4 separate regions of the Homo sapiens genome follow, and all the other regions are linked to region 3. Evidence: promoter capture Hi-C in 16 types of primary human blood cells and fetal thymus (Javierre and others, 2016). All regions are on one chromosome and are shown on one strand. Each heading gives the region's core, a stretch centred on a gene start or on the middle of the fragment in contact. The rest is flanking DNA. Distances are from core to core; before and after follow the strand shown. Region 1 holds the start of LOC100130987 (a long non-coding RNA gene). Region 2 overlaps KDM2A (lysine demethylase 2A). Region 3 holds the start of AIP (AHR interacting HSP90 co-chaperone). Region 4 overlaps KDM2A (lysine demethylase 2A).

Evidence for each region. Contacts are between HindIII fragments. The CHiCAGO score rates a contact against its expected background, and 5 or more counts as called.
Region 1: a contact is called between a fragment that was not itself captured here and the fragment with the promoter of AIP in region 3, in 2 of 17 cell types (naive CD4 T cells and naive CD8 T cells). The highest score is 5.3, in naive CD4 T cells.
Region 2: a fragment that was not itself captured here is called in contact with the fragment with the promoter of AIP in region 3 in 2 of 17 cell types (naive CD8 T cells and total CD8 T cells); the score reaches 5.3 in naive CD8 T cells.
Region 4: a fragment that was not itself captured here is called in contact with the fragment with the promoter of AIP in region 3 in 6 of 17 cell types (total CD8 T cells, naive CD4 T cells, activated CD4 T cells and 3 more); the score reaches 8.1 in total CD8 T cells.

What each region holds. Positions count from the first base shown.
Region 1 is chr11:67,316,226-67,319,395 of GRCh38, reverse strand. LOC100130987 (a long non-coding RNA gene) reads right to left here and starts at 1,557. Exons shown (of 4, transcript NR_024469.1): 1 at 1,199-1,557. RefSeq lists a silencer at 1,137-1,186 and enhancers at 1,407-1,836, 1,877-1,926. The HindIII fragment of the contact is 3,873 bases long and covers 1-3,170 here.
Region 2 is chr11:67,233,826-67,236,832 of GRCh38, reverse strand. All of the region lies in intron 12 of KDM2A (lysine demethylase 2A), which reads right to left. Among named protein-coding and RNA genes, the nearest start is that of GRK2, 31 kb to the left of the region's middle. The HindIII fragment of the contact is 2,348 bases long and covers 315-2,662 here.
Region 3 is chr11:67,481,629-67,484,415 of GRCh38, reverse strand. It overlaps AIP (AHR interacting HSP90 co-chaperone), which reads right to left and starts at 1,390. Exons shown (of 6, transcript NM_003977.4): 1 at 1,159-1,390. The coding sequence starts at 1,257. RefSeq lists an enhancer at 1,489-1,548. The HindIII fragment of the contact is 11,146 bases long and covers 1-2,787 here.
Region 4 is chr11:67,250,251-67,253,011 of GRCh38, reverse strand. KDM2A (lysine demethylase 2A) reads right to left here. Exons shown (of 21, transcript NM_012308.3): 17 at 2,214-2,761; 18 at 155-318. Among named protein-coding and RNA genes, the nearest start is that of GRK2, 15 kb to the left of the region's middle. The HindIII fragment of the contact is 387 bases long and covers 1,258-1,644 here.

The DNA of each region.
Region 1 (3,170 bases), core at 557-3,056, 170 kb after region 3:
TAAGTATCCACCCTACTATGTGGCATTAAGCCTGCATCCTCCCTAAATGCTGTGTGGTAACGCTATAATTCAGCCTACAGCTGAAGGGAGGCAATACACTGGCCTTGAGCATCCAACCTTGGGTGAAAAGACTCAAGTTTCCCCATCAAAATCAGCCTATAAAACCATCCTGCCTAGCCAGGTGTGGTGGCTCACGCCTGTAATCCCAACAATTTGGGAGGCCGAGGCGGGCAGATCTCTTGAGGCCAGGAGTTTGAGACCAGCCTGGCCAACATGGTGAAACCCCATCTCTAACAAAAAATACAAAAATTAGCCGGGAGCGATGGCACACGCCTGTAGTCCCAGCTACTCAGGAGGCTGAGGCACGATAATCGCTTGAACCCAGGAGGAGGAGGTTGCAGTAAGCAGAGATCACGCCACCGCACCCCAGCCTGGGTGACAGTGAGACCCTGTCTCAAAATAAACAAACGAACAAAAAGCAAAAAACCGCCCTGCTTAGGAGAATGAACTTGCCCAGAAATAAAGTGAATTCAAAAATTAAGAAAAGGTCTTATGGTGGCTAGGGACTATTGTAGAAATTATCAGAAACGATAGTTGGGACCTGGGATAGCAGTTCCTCTATGCAGTCCCTGGGCTAAAAACTTACATGCGTCATCTCATTTAATCCTCAAAAACCTGAGGTAGTATTAACATTATCCCCAATCTTGCAAATGAAGAAGCTGAGTCTCAAGAGATGTCCTAACTTTGCCCAAAGTCACAAACCCAAGTTTCTCTGACTCTAGATCCCAAGCTGAGAGTCTTGCTCAGATCATCCCAGGTCCCCTTCTTTCTTCTTGCACTTGGGGTGCAATAAGGGGCAATGGGGCCAGCAGTGTGTAACATACTGCACCGTAGGAAGAGACGTTAGGATCATCGGTCTCAGCCTCCGTATTTTACAGAGGAAGGAACTCGTAGGTCACACAGAGCCAGGGGGCTGCTCTGCAACAGAATCTCAATGGACACTAGAATTCCAGTCCAAGCCCCATTTTACAGAGCGTGGGAACTGAAGCCCACCGGGCCTGGGGGCCTCCCGGGTTCCGAATCCACCAGCGGCTGAGCCAGATCCAGCCCCGGGCGCACTCACTGCCCTGTCTGATTCTACCTCCGCGTTCACCTGCGCCGCGAACCCTCCCCGTGGGCTGCCAGCGCCCGGGAGTACCTGTCGGCCGCGCGCAGGCCCTCGGCTCGGGGTGACAAGACGCTGGCGCGGGCAAGCGGGGCTTCGCGGGCCACAGCCAGATCTCGGCCTCGAGGACCCGGGTCGCCACGCCAGCCCCTTTCCTCAGAACGCCGAGGCCTCAGGAGCGTGTGCGCGCCGGGACGCCCCAGAGAATTTGGAAGCGCTGGTCCCGGAGGCAAGGCCGGCTTGGTCTCCTCTCCTCAATCCCCCGACGCCATCCCCTGGACCTTCTGCAGACCGGGTCCCAGCCCCAGCGCACCTCAGGAAGAAACAACACCTTCGCGCTTAGCTGAGTCAAGCGGCCAGGACTCTAGAAGGGGCGAGGTTCCCATGGCAACGAGGGAAACTCTTTGCGCCTGCGCAGAGGCGCTCGGCACGCTGGGAAATGTGGTTTCCGGGTTGTCCCTGGAGGCTAAGGGAATGGACACAAGGTGGCGCGCGAACGTTGCGGTCGATGTGGCTAAGCCCGGGTCCCCAGCTGCCGGGCGCTGCGGGCGCAGGAGAGGCCGCGAAGGTCTGAAAGGTAGTTTCTCTGAGGCGTCTGGGATGCGGAGTGAAGAGAAGGAGGCACAGTCTCTTCAGCGCGGTTGATTTTGCCGTTTGAAAACTTGGCCTAACAAGCGGCAGCCCTGGCTAGGGCGAGGGCAGTTGCTTCCGAGGCCCCGCCCCAGCCTGGGCTGAGCCGGGAGCGGCCGAGGGAGGGGGCTGTGACGGTGGGAGCTGGTTCCGGAGGGAAGCGCGCGACGGTCGTGCTGCAAGCGTTCCAGGTCCAGGCTGGGCGACCCCTCGCGCTGCTGAGAGGCTCCTATGCCCGGTGGGAGTTGAAGTCGGGCTCCGGGAGCAGCAGTCATCCTGATCCTCCCACCCGCGAGCTCCAAGCACTTCTGGATCCAGGTCCCGCCTTGGGCGGAAATGTGCAGTCAGTTGACTGCCCAGGAGCCACCTTCCCCGCTCCCGCGTTAGTCTCTTGGAATGAGAATCTAGAAACCTAGGATCTGATTCCGGCTCTGTTAGAGATTAGTAGTTACTTCTCTGAGCCTCAGTTTCCTCATTTCTAGAAAACGATGGTATTGGGGCAGGCGCGGTGGCTCACGTCTGTAATCCCAGGACTTTGGGAGACGGAGGGGGTGGATCACCTGAGGTCAGGAGTTAGAGACCAGCCTGGGCAACATGGCGAGACCCCCTCTTCTACTAAAAATATGAAAATTAGCCAGCGTCGTGGCACAAAAAAAAAAAAAGAAAAGATTTTTTTTTTTGGAGATGGAGTCTCTCTCTGTCGCCCAGGCTGGAGTGCAGTGGCACTATCTCGGCTCACTGCAAGCTCCGCCTCCCGGGTTCACGCCATTCTCCCGAGTAGCTGGGACTACAGGCGCCCGCCACCATGCCCGGCTAATTTTTTTGTATTTTTAGTAGAAACGGGGTTTCACCGTGTTAGCCAGGATGGTCTCGATCTCCTGACCTCGTTATCCACCCGCCTTGGCCTCCCGAAGTGCTGGGATTACAGGCGTGAGCCACCCCGCCCGGCCACAAAAGTGCTTTATAAAGCATTACCTGGAATGGGGGCGGGGGGGAGCCCTCAGACAACCTAAATGTTCATCAATAAATGACCACTTAACTGATGGATTCCATAAAATAGAACATGTGTGGTTATTTTTTAAATGAGGCAAATCTTTTATGTACTATTTGGGGGGAAAACTCAAATGGCGTTTTTCCTCTGCTCTCACACCATCACAATTATCAACACGTAAGACTTTGGTGACCAAAGATATTGGGTTGGCCAGGCGCAATGGCTCACGCCTGTAATCCTAGCGTTTTGGGAGGCCGAAACGGGTGGATCACCTGAGGTCAGGAGTTCGAGACCAGCCTCGCCAGCATGGTGAAACCCCCATCTCTACTAAAAATACCAAAAAAAATTAGCCAGGCATGGTGGTGGGCACCTGTAATCCTAGCT
Region 2 (3,007 bases), core at 239-2,738, 250 kb after region 3:
CAGGCATTATTCAGAGCGGTGGAATAAGTGAATTTCATAGATTTGTAACATCTAACTTTTTTCTGGCTGTAATAATGCACTGCTTATTAAGTATTTTACTAATCTTGTTAATTTTAACAACAATCTCACAGATATTTTATAGAGGAGAAAATAGGTTTCCATAAATTTAGTAACTTACCCAAAAGTCACAAAGTATGATTGGCAGGCTTATCAAAATGTTTAGAGAAAACAGGAAAGTCGAAAAGTATTCAACAATATTGAATTTGCTTTATTAAGTGAGCTGGGCCGCCAGATATATTGTTATATAAAAAGCTTCTTTTATATATGCATATATATTAAGAACTACTTTATCACCAAAATAAATACCAACAAAAACAACAATCTGATTAAAAACTCAAATTGTGGCTGGGCGTGGTGGCTCATGCCTATAATCCTAGCACTCTGGGAGGCCTAGACAGGCAGATCACTTGAGGTCAGGAGTCAAGACCAGCCTGGCCAACATGGTAAAACTCCATCTCTACTGAAAATACAAAAATTAGCCAGGCGTGGTGGCACACACCTATAATCCCAGCTACTCAGGAGGCTGAGGCAGGAGAATCACTTGAACCCGACAGGCGGAGGCTGCAGTGAGCCTAGATCACGCCACTGCACTTCGGCCTGGGTGACAGAGCAAGACTTCATCTCAAAAAACAAAAAAACCACAAATTCTTCCAGTTGACTACTACTATCCTATTGTGCCCTGCTATTAGCAGGCTGGGATGTACCCTTTTAGATTCCTCTGCAATGCACAAATACGCATACACTTTTTCTTACATTAATGGGATGGTACTATACATACTGTTACATGTCCTACCTTTTTATTCAACATATATCAAGAATACAACTTTCCAATTTTAGAAATGTTAAGGATATCTTGGCCGGGCGCAGTGGCTCACGCCTGTAATCCCAGCACTTTGGGAGGCCAAGGCAGGTGGATCGCAAGGTCAGGAGTTCAAGACCAGCCTGGCCAACATGGTGAAACCCCGTCTCTACTAAAAATACAAAAATTAGCTGGAGTGGTGGTGCGTGCCTGTAGACCCAGTTACTCAGAGGCTGAGACAGGAGAATCACTTGAACCCAGGAGGTGGAGGCTGCAGTGAGCCGAGATGGCGCCACTGCACCCCAGCCTAGGTGACAGAGCAAGACTCTGTCTCAAAAACAAAACAAAACAAAACAAAACAAAACAAAAAAGCAGCCGGGCGCGGTGTCACGCCTGTAATTCCAGCACTTTGGGAGGCAGAGGCGGGTGGATCATCTGAGGTCAGGAGTTCAAGACCAGCCTGAACAACATGAAGAAGCCCAGTCTCTACTAAAAATACAAAATTAGCCAGGGTGGTGGTGCATGCCTGTAATCCCAGCTACTCGGGAGGCTGAGGCAGGAGAATTGCTTGAACCTGGGAGGTGGAGGTTGTGGTGAGCCAAGACTGCGCCATTGCACTCCAGCCTGGGCAAAAACAGTGAAACTCAGTCTCAAAAAAAAAAAAAAAAAAATTCTCATAGTAGGAAAACCCTATTCTACCTATGTACACTTTCAAGAGTCAACATTACCCACAACCCCTCCCAAACAGAACCTCATACACACGCTGATAGCTTTACCAGTTTACCGGTAAGGCAATACTTCCTTTCTTTTTTCTTTTTTTTTTTTTTTTGAGATGGAGTCTTGCTCTGTCACCCAGGCTGGAGTGCAGTGGTGCCATCTGGGCTCACTGCAAGCTCCGCCTCCCGGGTTCACGCCATTCTCCTGCCTCAGCCTCCCAAGTAGCTGGGAATACAGGCGCCCGCCAAGACACCTGGCTAATTTTTGTATTTTTTCTAGAGACGGGGTTTCACCATGTTAGCAAGGATGGTCTTGATCTCCTGACCTCATGATCCGCCCGCCTCAGCTTCCCAAAGTGCTGGGACTACAGGCATGAGCCACCATGCCCGGCCTACTTTCTTTTTGAGACAAGGTCTCACTCTTTTGCCCAGACTGGAGTGCAGTGGTGAGATCACAGCTCAGTGAAGCCTCAACTTGCCCAGCTCAAGTGATCCTCCCACTTCAGCCTTCCACGTAGCTGGGATCACAAACACACACCACCACACCTGGATAATTTTGTATTTTTGTGGAGGTGAGGTTTCGCCACGTTGCCCAGGCTGGTCTCAAGAGATCTGCCTGCGTCTGCCGCCTAAAGCACTAGGACAAGAGGTGTGAGCCACTGGGCTCAGCCCAAGTCAGTACTTTTTAATGTCCTATTTTTTCACTTAATCCTCTTCCAACTCTATATTCTATGACTTGTTCTTCAACGCCTTAGAACCTAAAAAAAGCCCTTTTATCACAGCACTGAAATGCACTATTTTTCCTTGGAATATTATGAATATCTCATCTACCACTTTTCCCCTCATCTCTTCTACTAATTATTCCTGAAAGCCAGATAGGTTACAACAGCAAACAATTCCTTTCTCTGCAGGAAGGGTAAACTGTACTAGCTTTGTCCCCCACTGAAGTATAGCCATCAGTGCTATAAGCACCAAGTTTTCTAGCACTTGAAAGTCCCCAGCTGTGCAGTGATTCAGCAGCTACCCAATCTAATGCTTTTTTCTTTTGAGTGATGCTTAGATTCTCAAGGTATTCAAGCTCTAAGCTTGCTATATCTTTTCTGAGATTTAGCATAACTGATCAAATATAGGAATAATTAATCTATTTGATCTTAAGTGAAACTACACCTGCAGAGCTGGAATCTAAATCTGTTGTCTTCTGACGTCAGCTACATTTTGACTGTGGTTTTGGGTAAACGAGAAGCTGTGGACAAGTCTCTGGAGGGAGAATTCAAACACTGTCGGCCTGTGTAGTCATCTCACTGGCTACTTGTTCCTCATGCTCTGGCCTCTGCCACTATATCTTAGCCAGTGATGGCAGTCACGTTTTTCAGTGGTCCCTGATAAACACAAGCAAGCTATCTCCGGACACTTTTCATAATGCTAAGCCTCC
Region 3 (2,787 bases), core at 141-2,640:
AAACGGAATCAACAACAGTACCTATCTCACATTGTAGGAAATAAACGTGTGAAGCATGTAGCACAATGTTCGAATAGTGAGCACTCAATCAGTGCTGGCGATTGGTTATTTAACACCACCTGTTTCTGATCTTGGGGTGCCATTGTTCACATCTCTCCTTCTGATGTCTGTTCCATCCAGGATCCCCCTTGCCAGCCCCTTCTTCCAACGCCACCAACCCCCCAGCACATGGGGGCATGAACCCACACCACACATCCTGTCTCTTCTTAGAGAAGATATCTTTTCATACAGCGGATCACTCCAGCCATGCAGCTCCCCTCTGCTCTCAGGGCACTTATACTGCACTGGGCTAGGATGCTTAGCTGCCCGATTCGGCACGGTGCTGGCCAGGGGGCATGTGCTCATTTGCTCAATGTGCATGTCCTGCCTGACTGCTCTGCTGGGCACAGGGGCTGCCCCTGGGAGGTTCCCTACTCTGCAAACAAGTGGCAGCTGGGAAAAGCACTCCGGGAGGAGGCAACTACAGGAGAAGCAGGGAAGCCTGGAGTTGTAGGTTGGGGGAGAAGCGGGCAGAGGGGCTGGATCTGGGGGCCTGGCAAAAAGGAGAAAAGTGGGAGGTTCTTTACTTCCCAACCCTCATCTGTCCCAACAAGCCCCTAGTGCAGCAGGAAGGCTGCTAAAGAGTCCCTGTCTGGGAGACCTGACCTCTGGGCCCGTTCTCCGGCTTTGCACGTCCCAGGGTCTTGGTTTTCCACTCTAAACAGCGGCAGTTGGTCTAAGTGTTTTCAGAAGGCCCTTCCATCTACAAAGGATCATGAGCCTTGAAACCCAGATACCCGAGGACCACTCCCGGCCCTGGGTTTCCTCCAGCGTGGGGTCTGCCCAAGCACTGAGATCAACCCCCAACCCCAACCCGCTTGTGATGACTGACGGCCTCCCCCACCAATGCTGCTACAAGGCCGAGCCAGGGGGCGGGGCAGACAGGCCCGAATTCACCCCCTACTTAAATTCAGCCCAATCAGCGTCGAGTTCTGCATGTGAGCGGTAGGGGCAGTGGACGCTGCCCTCTGGGCATGCGCAACCTCTCGCCTAAGGCCTCCTCCCGCCTCGCATGCGCACCACGCCGCAGAGGGGGAGAAGGGTAGGGTAGACACGAACCTTGGTCCCATCTTGAAAGTCCGGGAGCTCTCCTCGGCCTTCCTGTATCACACGTTTTTGGATCCCGTCCTCCCGGAGTCTTGCGATGATATCCGCCATCCTCCTTCCCCGCTGCTCCCTTTCGGCAACTTCCGGACTCGCTCGGTAGCTTCCGGACTTGCTTCGGCAACTCCTAGCACCTCGGCAGCTTCCGAGCTAGCGCCATTTTGGTTGAGGGCAGAAGCCAAAAGGGACTGAGCGTGGAAACGGATGGTGATTGGTTCTCTGCGCTGGGGCTGAGCGCGCGCGTCTGCTCGGGGGCGGAGCCTAGGAATGTCTCGGGGCTGGACCCCAGCCTGTCAAGGAGGAAGGGCCGGGGTCCGCGGGCCGGGCGGGACGAGGACGTCCCTAACAATTGTCATTGAATTGATTGGGACTGCGGCCGTGTGGCACTTTGTTTGAAGTTGTGGATGGAATATAACAGCACTGCAGAGTTAGGAAAATGAAAAAAAAAAAAAACACCCGTAAGCCACACCCTCAAAGTGTTATGATTTTTGTGTATTTTCTTCCGGCTTTTTCTCTTTCGCATATCTAGTATGATTGTCGGGACTCTTGCATCCTGGATCTTCCTCTTTCAAAAAATAAAAAGAGGAAGAGGGAAAGAAAGGTGGAGAAGGAGACCAAGAGAGCCCATTGCGGGGTCGGAAATGAGTCATAGTTGTGCCCAATTAATATTAGGGAATAATCGATGAATGATAGAAATGAGGTACTTTAGCGCCGGGCGCGGTGGCCCTGTAACCCCACCACTTTGGGAGGCCGAGGCGAGAGGATCGCTTGAGCCCAGGAGTTCGAGGCTGCAGTGGGCCGTGTTCGTGCCACTGCACTCCAGGCTAGCCGACAGAGCGAGATGCTGTCTCAAAACAAAACAAAAAAAAAAAATTAAATTAAAAGAAAAGAGAAATGAGGTACTTTGGGGCTAAAACAACTTTTGTTTTTCTTTTTTTGAGACGGAGTCTCGCTCTGTCACCCACGCTGGAGTGCAGTGGCACAATTTCAGCTCACTGCAAGCTCTGCCTCCCGGGTTCACGCCATTCTCCTGCCTCAGCCTCCCGAGCAGCTGGGACTACAGGCGCCCGCCACCATGCCCGGCTAATTTTTTGTATTTTTAGTAGAGACAGGGTTTCACCGTGTTAGCCAGGATGGTCTCAATCTCCGGACCTCGTGATCCGCCCACCTCGGCCTCCCAAAGTGCTGGGATTACAGGCGTGAGCCACAGCGCCCAGCTGATATGAAACATTCTAAATAAAATACTAGGCTAATTGAATTCACTAATGTCATGTAAAAATGCATCAGTATGGGGCAGGTGTGGTGGCTTATGCCTCTAATACCAGCACTTTGGGAGGCCAAGGCAAGTGGATCTCCTGGATCTCCTTGAGCTCACAAGTTCAAGACCAGCCTGGACAACATGGCAAAATACCATCTTCACCAAAAATACAAAAAATTAGGTGGTGTGGTGGTGCACGCCTGTGGTCCCAGCTACTCAGCAGGCTGAGGCTGGAGGATTGCTTGAGCCCAGGAGATGGAGGTTGTAGTGAGCCAAGATCGCACCACTGCACTCCAGCCTGGGTGATAGAGTGAGACCCCATCTCA
Region 4 (2,761 bases), core at 202-2,701, 230 kb after region 3:
GGCCCTGGGTAAACCTCTTGCTAAGCAACAATGGCATGGGACTGCTGCCCTACACTGCCCTCCAGTGATGCTAAGAAGCACTGCCAATAATGCAACTTTTCTTGCCCGCTTCTTCTGGGCCCCTGGAAAGACAGCGGCAGGGCTGCTCACTTACCTGGCAGCCTATTGACGAGCCATGTCAGTTGCTTTTTAGAGATGTTGGTCCAACTGAGGTCAAGGCTGACTGGCTGCCTCTTGATGATGCCACTGAGGGCCTGGGGCACAATGGCCTTACACCTACTCAAGTCAATTTTTGTCCAAAGTCTCTTGTCGCAGCACCTGTGATAGAAGGGAAGAGAACTCGCCTTCATTAACTTGATCAGTGGAGCTCCCATCACAGGCTGCTTATGGCTTCTGGGAAAAGCAGAGTACCTGGAGGCTCGTTCTTCTACAAGTGTACAGGGATCACACCTTATCATTTTTTGCCTCACAGAATAGGCAAAAAATTGCCTTGAACTCTACAACAACTAGACGCTTTGCAAACCTACATGTTGATAGTATATAACTTGACCACTTTACCCTGATTTATTCTGGAGTGTTTGAGAACACAACAGTTGTTAGGGACCCATAGCAAGCAACAGTCTATAGCCCCTTCATCTGTATTAAAATGGCATGGTTCCTGCTGAAGTGTATATAAGGGAGCCTCTTGAAGTTTCTAGACTTCTTACTGTCTAAAGCTAAGAAGGCCTGCTCCGTTCCCTCCCTTGTCAATCACTCGCAGCTGCCTGAAATGCAGGGTGCTACTCAGCACATCCACAATTCACCCTGCCTTCAGCCCATTACTGTATCAGGTCAAAAGAGGCTCTTTATCAGGCTTACAGAGTCCTCTCTCACCCTCAAGTTCTGCCTCAGTGCTATCCTGACATTTTCTAGCCAGGCCAGACCAGAACTGAAAGGGATAGGCCTGGCTTTCCACTGCAGTCTACAAATCTACAGGCCACAAACCACAACATGCTGGCTTCAATTTAATATTTTATAGCCCCTGCCCCCCAGCCTGGTTGGCAGGGGAAGAGAGACAGCACATAACGGGAATCTGATGTGCCTTGCCCTGAAAACCAAGAGGTAGAGCCAAGCAGTCCTATTAGCCCTAGACAGAGAAATATTAAGGAGAATTTAGATACACTATACATTAATTCAGATTTGGGAAATAAACTCATGTTTGCAAAGAATAGGGTCTATTTAGAGACTGAAACAATTTTACCAGTGGCACATGAAGCTTCTATGGCAGAAGCAAGCTGCTGACAATACAGCAGATTTTGCTGCTCTAAACTCGAGCATGCATCAGAGTCCCCTGGAGGAGCGCTTGTTAAAGCAGACTGCTGGGCCCACCCAAGAGGTTCTGATTTAAGAGGCCTATGAGGGTCCTGACAGTTGACATTTCTAAAAAGTTCCTGAGTGAATGCCATTGGTCAGGACACCACACTACTGTAATAGGATGTGTGTGACCCAGATAAAAAGGATATATCCTAGAGTAAATATATACCAGAGTTTAAGGAAAAACCAACAATGCCCAATGGGAAGCTCCTTGTTCATCATCACTAGCAATTTTTTCCCCCAAGTGTCTGTCCAACTTAAGAAGAAATGGTAGCTCTCATTAAGGAAGCTTCAAAACTGGACTCTGCTTGCTGGAAGAGGGAATTCTGATCCAGGTTTGGGGGGATGAGCATTAAAACTGAAGAAAAATGTTAAGCACCTTCAAATTCATCTTGAAAAGCATGCCCACTTCTCTCACTGAATGGAGAGGTAATTGAGTCAGGGGCTTAAGTGAGGTTATCTGTGTTATCAGCACCAGAAGAGTGACTAGAACATCATAGGCTCTCAACCAACATGTGATGAGTTCAGCTGACTTGAGGAGGAAATTTTCAGCCCGCAAGACTCTCAAGTTTTATCACAGACTACAAATCTATCCCGCAAATCAGTCTCCCTCCCCATAACAATGAGACATGGGAAAGTATAGAGCAGGGCCAGGAGGCAAATGGCCAGTTCCCTAATGACATCTGCGGGTACAACAGGCTACATCTTTAAACAGGACCCAAAGTTTGGGAAAAAGGGTCAATTCACTCCTCATAAGACCCCACAGGCTTTCAGATGCCAAGGTGCATGCTGTTCTCATATGGAAAACCTGCCACCTACTCCCATACCCCTAATTCCTGACCCCCTGAATCCCTGCTCACCATTTATACCACGTCTTGCACACTCGCATACATTCACAAAGTTCTCTGCGGCTGAGGTAGCGGAAGACAGACATCCAGACCTCCCGCTGCATCCAGCTTTCGTCTCCATCCTGAGCCCAACTGCCCCGGCCATTCAGCCTGGCTGCACCCCCCTCCTCTGCACTGTCATCTTCCTCCTCCTCCTCCTCCTCTTCCTCCTCCTCTCCCCCCAGCCCCTCCTCATCCCCACGCTGGGGGGTTCGGGCTGGGCAGTGCTGCACTAGCACACGGGGGGAATGGCGAAGGTTGGCAGAGGAGGCCGTGATGGCCTGCAGCTTGGGCACAATGGATGTCCCGTGGAGCTCTTTGGTGGGCCTCTGTAGCGTGACAGTGAGGTACGATCCCCGGATCTTGGCTTTCTCAACTTCAGACAGCTCCTTTTTGCCGCTGGGATTGTTCTCCTTTTCCCGTACCATGGTGCGCTCTGTGGCCTGCAGCCGCAGCAACTGCCGCCGTTTGAAGCGCTCATCGCGGCTGGCACTGTGGTGGTCGCTGGGGCCAGCCCCAGG